Linked DNA regions of Homo sapiens: region 1 is linked to region 2. Evidence: promoter capture Hi-C in human tissues and cell types (Jung and others, 2019). All regions are on one chromosome and are shown on one strand. The core of a region is centred on a gene start or on the middle of the fragment in contact, and the rest is flanking DNA. Distances in the headings are between cores, read along the strand shown. Region 1 overlaps PCBP3 (poly(rC) binding protein 3). Region 2 holds the start of PCBP3 (poly(rC) binding protein 3).

Evidence for each region. The method cuts DNA at HindIII sites, captures the fragments that hold promoters and counts their contacts. A contact is called where the count stands out against the background at its distance.
Region 1: a contact is called between a fragment that was not itself captured here and the fragment with the promoter of PCBP3 in region 2, in 8 of the 25 tissues and cell types used here (H1 embryonic stem cells, IMR-90 fibroblasts, dorsolateral prefrontal cortex and 5 more).

What each region holds. Positions count from the first base shown.
Region 1 is chr21:45,732,727-45,735,829 of GRCh38, reverse strand. PCBP3 (poly(rC) binding protein 3) reads right to left here. Exons shown (of 18, transcript NM_001384156.1): 3 at 401-438. Among named protein-coding and RNA genes, the nearest start is that of PCBP3, 91 kb to the right of the region's middle. The HindIII fragment of the contact is 8,113 bases long and covers 1-3,103 here.
Region 2 is chr21:45,642,108-45,645,052 of GRCh38, reverse strand. It overlaps PCBP3 (poly(rC) binding protein 3), which reads right to left and starts at 1,328. Exons shown (of 18, transcript NM_001384156.1): 1 at 1,185-1,328. RefSeq lists silencers at 674-813, 1,134-2,123. The HindIII fragment of the contact is 13,348 bases long and covers 1-2,945 here.

The sequences.
Region 1 (3,103 bases), core at 147-2,646, 91 kb before region 2:
GTGGGCACTGTTGGCACAAGAACAAAGGCGTGCGGTAGGCTTGTGCGGTAGGCTCGTGCAGTAGGCTCCAAGTGCACTAACAACTGGCCCTCCAGCTCCTGCTGGTCTACATGGTCAGGTTAACTGTGGAGAAAGGTTACCAGAGAGGGAGGAAACTGCCTCTTTTAAAATTTTGGTTCCACAGAAGCAAGAAGGGAAAACGCGTGTCACTCACACTACATGCTCTTGGCAGTAGTGTGACCTGAGGCAGGTTCCCCATGAGACATAAAACCAGGATCCAGAGGGTCAGCAGAGACACACAGCTTCCCTTGAGAGCAAGACTTTCAACTCTGCTGACACCGAAAGAGTCGTTTAGTCTAAAAATATCGCCTGTGACAGCATCATAAGAAGCACTACTTACACGGAACCACGTGGGGAGCTTCTCTCTTGTAGACAGTCCTGTAAACAGTTGAAGGAAAAAACAATTAAAATTGGAAATCATAGGCTTTCCAAAGAGAGACAGAAATCACAATCTATCACCTTAGATACCAAATTTTATCAAACCAAAGTCATCTATTAAAAAGACATGTTTATAAATCAGTTATTGGGAAGGTCAAAGACAGTTTCCCAGAGAAAGAATTCCATAAAAAGTGATTCAATTCTAAACTGAGTCTGGAACATACACGACACTGATAAAGACTCAGAACCCCAGGGTCCCTGAACCTTGACCCACAGTCCTCGGCCTGACTGACGTCTGGGGCACAGCTGATTCTCAAATCCCTCTGAATCTATAGGGGAAGGTAAGAACACAGGGAGAGTATACGGGACGGGACAGCCCAGAACACCCACAGTCTCGGCTCCACCCTGAAGGGCCTTCACCTGGACCACAGGCCAAGGGTTCTCCCTGTGCAGACTGAATTAGCAGGTGAACACCGCGCAGAGACTCCTACAGACAGACAGCCGGCCTCTGTCCAGTGATGTCCAAAGACTACAGAAACATAAGAAAGCCTGGACCATGGTCAGCTGTGACAGAGAAAGAGTGAGACTGGGATGACTCTCCCACCTCACTTAAAAGTCAGACAAAAGATATGAGACGAGGGTGTTCAGACATGGAGCAGCAGGCAGCACAGGACAACGATCCCCAGAGAAGGGAAGCAAATGGGTTGCATCCTACAATTGCTGCAGCCTACAGCCTGGGGAGAGTGCCTGGGCCACAGCACAGGAAGGGGGAACCCAGGCAAGGCCAGGGGAGTTGGAAACGGAGTTGAGAATTCAGGGAGGCAAAGGCAGAGAGGAAAGGGGAGAGATGCAACTGACATCTCTGGAAGTCGGTGGGCTGGGCCTGCAGCACCGTCTCATCAGGATGCACTGCACTCAGGACCCCACAGCACAGGAGGCAAAAGCTAGAATTAGAGGGCAGAGTACCAGAAAGGAATGCCCTGCACAGAGAAACATCCCAGAGGTCTGTGGTGGATTCTCTAGTCTCTGCCTGGACATGGATGGGCACATGTGAGTGAGTGGACTACAGGAGGTCGGGGGAAGAACCAATGAAAAGAAAAAGTACAGACAATAGCTATGGCTCACACAGATCTGGGAAGAGTTCCTACTCCCAACAACTAGGCTGCAGGAGCCTTGCAGTACAGGGGACACCACACTGAGCACTCAAATGACTGCACTGGCAGCAGACTAAGCTGGGGTACTACACTAGGCAATGCTTAACAAAGTCAGCAACAAGCTGCCAAAAAATCTGAACTTTCCAAGTAACTTAAATGCATTCCAAAACATAGTTCAAAATATTTTAAAAGAATGCAGAGTCCAACAATACAAAGTTTACGATGTCTTTCATCCGTCCAAAACTGACGAGGCATGCAAAGAAGCACAAAAATATATCTCATAATGAGATTGGTTGATCAGTAAGATACAAACTCAGAAATTATACACACAGAGATCATTAGTACACAAAGACATTAAAACAGCTATTATACACTTTAGGAGGCAGAGGCAGGCAGATCACTCGAGGTCAGGAGTTCAAGACCAGCCTGAGCAACATGATGAAATCCCATCTCTATTAAAAATACAAAAATTAACCAGGCGTGGTGGTGGGCACCTGTAATCCCAACTACTTGGGAGGCTGAAGCAGGAGAATTGCTTAAACCCAGGAAGTAGAGGCTTCAGTGAGCCAAGATCGCACCACTGCACTGCAGCCTGGGTGACAGAGCTAGACTCCATTTGAATAAATAAATACATAAATAAATAAATAGGCCAGGCACGGTGGCTCATGCCTGTAATCCCAGCACTTTGGGAGGCCGAGGCGGGCAGATCATGAGGTCAGGAGATCGAGACCATCCTGGCTAACACAGTGAAACCCCGTCTGTACCAAAAATACACACAAAAAAATTAGCCAGGCATGATGGCGGGCGCCTGTAGTCCCAGCTACTTGGGAGGCTGAGGCAGGAGAATGGCGTGAACCCAGGAGGTGGAGCTTGCAGTGAGCCGAGATGGCACCACTGCACTCCAGCCTGGGCGACAGAGCGAATCCATCTCAAAAAATAAATACATAAATAAATAAAACATCTATCATAAATACATTGTATATGTAGAAGATGATACAGGAAAGCATAAAATGCTAAGGAGAGACAAGAAAAGTATTTTTAAAACACACAAATCAAGCATGCAGAGATGAAAAATACATCTGAGATTTAAAAAAATATACTGACTGGGATTAACACCATATTAGACCACAAAAGAAAAGATCAGTCAATGTACAGACAGAATAATCTGTGCAGACAGAAACTACCTAAAATAAAACACAGATAAAGATTCTCTACTCCCAAAAGACAAAAATATATGTGTAATTGGAGACCCAGAAGCAGGGGATGGGACAAGCCAAAAACATATTTTAAAAAATAATGACAAAAGGCAGGGCAGAGTGGCTCAAGCCTGTAATCCCAGCACTCTGAGAGCCCAGGAGTTTGAGACCAGCCTGGACAACACAGTGAGACTCCATCTATACAAAAACATTTTTAAAATCAGCCAGGCATGGTGGCACACACCTGTAGTCCAGCTACTCAGGAGGCTGAGGTTGGAGGATTACCTGAGCCCAGGAATTCAAGTCTACTCTGAA
Region 2 (2,945 bases), core at 79-2,578:
CTCCTTTTGGGGCCAAAATAGGTATCTCTGACACGCTTTAAGATGATGAATTATTCTTGAATATGAGGAGGACTGGGAGTTAGTTCTCTTAAATAGGGAAGCACCCTTGCACACTCCTTTGGGATCCACATCTGAGAAAGTCCAAAGAAAAGAAAAAGGGCAACAGTTTGCCCCTGAAAGTGAGTTCAATTTCAGAGGGATATGTGAGGGCCTGTGCCAGAGGAATATTTTTGAAATGGGGGGAGTCTATAAGTTGCCCAGTCTAATCTCTAAAGGCCTCTCCGCAAGGCCCTGCTGCTCAAGATTCCTTCTGGCGAATCCCACTCTACAAACACTCAACAACTAAGAGTGCTACTGGCTCACATGGAGGGCTAACAAGACCTGCAAATCCAGGCTGCTCTGAAGGACGGTGGAAGATAACCAACCCCGAGCCACGAGATTTAGGACCCGACTTTTGGTTAACTTTCAAATTTCTTATGCCAGTAATATACTTCAGAGTGGCGCGGAGGGAATTGGAAAACATCACCAGGCAAAAAAAAGAAAAAAACTCTTTCACGAAACAAGACTTCCAATTAGAACACGTGTGGGGACAATAAGAAACACGTTCTAACCACCCCCAAAATTAAAATAAAACACAGCGAGCAACAAGAGAGACCTGCGCGCGCCCCACCGCCCGCGCGCGGCTCTCCGCAGGGTCACCGAGGGGTGAGGCCGCGCTCTCCCGGCGGCCGTCCAGGGGGAGGAGGCCCCGCGCCCCGCCCCGCCGCCCTCCAGCCGCCGCGGCCGCTCCGGGGTGTTCCCCAGATCTCTTCTCAATCAAGAGATGAAATTTGTGCCGTTTTGAAACTGAAGCCTCAAGTAGTCCAGACGTTTTCTGACCCACATCCGAGACGTTCTCGGCTTCCCGCCGCAACTTCCGAATTTGGGGAGGGGGCGGAGGCGGGCGGGCCAGGCCTGGCGACCGCACCTTGAGGGAGCGCGAGTCCCCTCGCTGCCCCGGGCCGCCGCAGGCGCCGGCGGCGGTCGGGGACGGCGCGACCCAGCCCGGGACCCCCGCCCGCCCCGGCTCGGGCGAAGTTTGCCGCGGCCCGGGGTCGCCCCGTCACTCGGCCTCCGTCGGGGACTGGGTCCCCGTAACCCGCAAGGGCGCCCGACCCCGACCCCGCCCGCCACCGCTCACTCACCTGCCCTGCGCCGGACGGCGAGCCCGCGGGCCGGCGGGGAGAGGCCGGGAGGCCCGGGCGGGGTCGGGGCGAGGCGGGTGAGGAGGCGGCGGCGGAGCCTAAGTCAGCCGAAGCGGCGGCGACCGCGGCTGAGGCGGCTGAGGCGGCGGTCGCGGCTTCAGGCGCTCCAGCCCGAGCGCTGCGCGCGGCGCGGGCCCGCCCCTCTGCGCCGCTAACCAATCTAGCGCCGCGCGCCGCCGCCGGCCCCGCCCCCGCCCAAGGGCAGGCTCGCGAAAGCGGGCGCCGCGGGCCAATGAAAGGGCGGAACATCAACCGGCGCGGCCAATCCGAGCCCGGAAAGTTCTCTGGAAAAAGCCAACTCCAGTCAAAGGGGCGGGGGTGGGGCTGGGGGCGGGGCGGGGACCTGGCCCAATGACGCGCGGGGCGGGGCCGAGCATTGGGCGGGGAGGAGGCGGGGCCTCGAACGGGCGGGCCGGTCACTAGTAGTGGGCGGGGTCGTAGGCGGGACATTGAGCGGGCGGGGCAAGAATCGGGGCGGGGGCCTAATGAAGTGAAGCGGGGAGGGGACGGGCAGTGGGAGGGGCAGGTCACATTTGGGGTGGGGTGGGGGCGGGGCAGGGGCGGGGCTGAGTACGGGAGGCCAGGCCGGGGAGAGGCCTAAGTCGGGGCGGGCGGGAGAAGGGCAAGAGCAGTGGGCGGGGCTCGGGGGTTAGGGGATTAGTGCCCTTGCTGGGGCGGGGCCCAGGCTTGGGGCGGGCCTGTGGTGGGCAGGGCCGTGGATGGGCGGGGCGAGCCTTCGTGGGCGGGCCAGGCCTGTGGTGGGCGGGGCGGGCCGTTGGTGAGCGAGACCTTGGTGGACGGGGCGGATCCGCGGTGGGCGGGGATTTGGCGGGCGGGCGGGTGGGCCCGACGGGACGGGAATGGCCGTTGAATTCCCAGCCGTGCCGCAACCCCGAAGGTCCCCCTGCAGCGCCCGCTTCCCGTTCTCTGTGGGCCTGGCCCCGGCCCGGAGGCTGGGGCCGCAGCGCCCGGCGGGCAGGGGCCCCGAGCGGCTCGTGAGCCTGTGCCCAGACGCTGCCCGCCCCGCGCTGGTCCCGCCGCCCTGTCCCCTCCGCCCGCCCGGCGTTCGCGTGCCGTGGCCTGGGGCGGGGCGTTGCTGGGCCCCGGGGGCTGCAGGGGGAGGCCGCCCTTTCTCTGGGCTGGCTCCGGGCTGTTCCGCTCCGCGCCGTTTTCCCGGTACTTCCCGCGGAGCCCGCCTCGCTGTGCGTCCCCGCCCGGGCGTTTCTTCCGCGGCGCTGAGCGCCCGCCCCGGCCTCGGGCAAGGGCAGCCGGACGCCCCGAGGACCAGGGCGCTGGGGCCGAGGCGCGTCCTCCGCAGTCGCCGCGCCTGGGCCCCGTTTCCCCGCGGGTCCTCGCCGGGGTGGGAGGCGCCTCTTGGCGTCCGTGGGGAGCTGGGTGTGGGGGGCGGCAGGGCAGGAGGTGGGGGGGCTGAGCCGGAGAAACGTCCTCGCCCCGCCCGAGACCTCAGACACCCCAGAACCTCGGGCCGGCAGCCAGCTGCAGGAATCGCGCCCTAAAGCCTGGGGTCCGCGCCCGCCCGCCTCCCGCGAGCGCCAGGGGCTGCCGGGTCACCGGGATGCAGCCTCGAGGCGACGTCACAGACCCCACGCGGCCCCCCGAGCACCCCCGGAGCCGGCGCGGGGACAGGGGTTCGGGATGGACGGAACCCACGCAGGGAACGTTCCGGGCCGTCTACGCCAG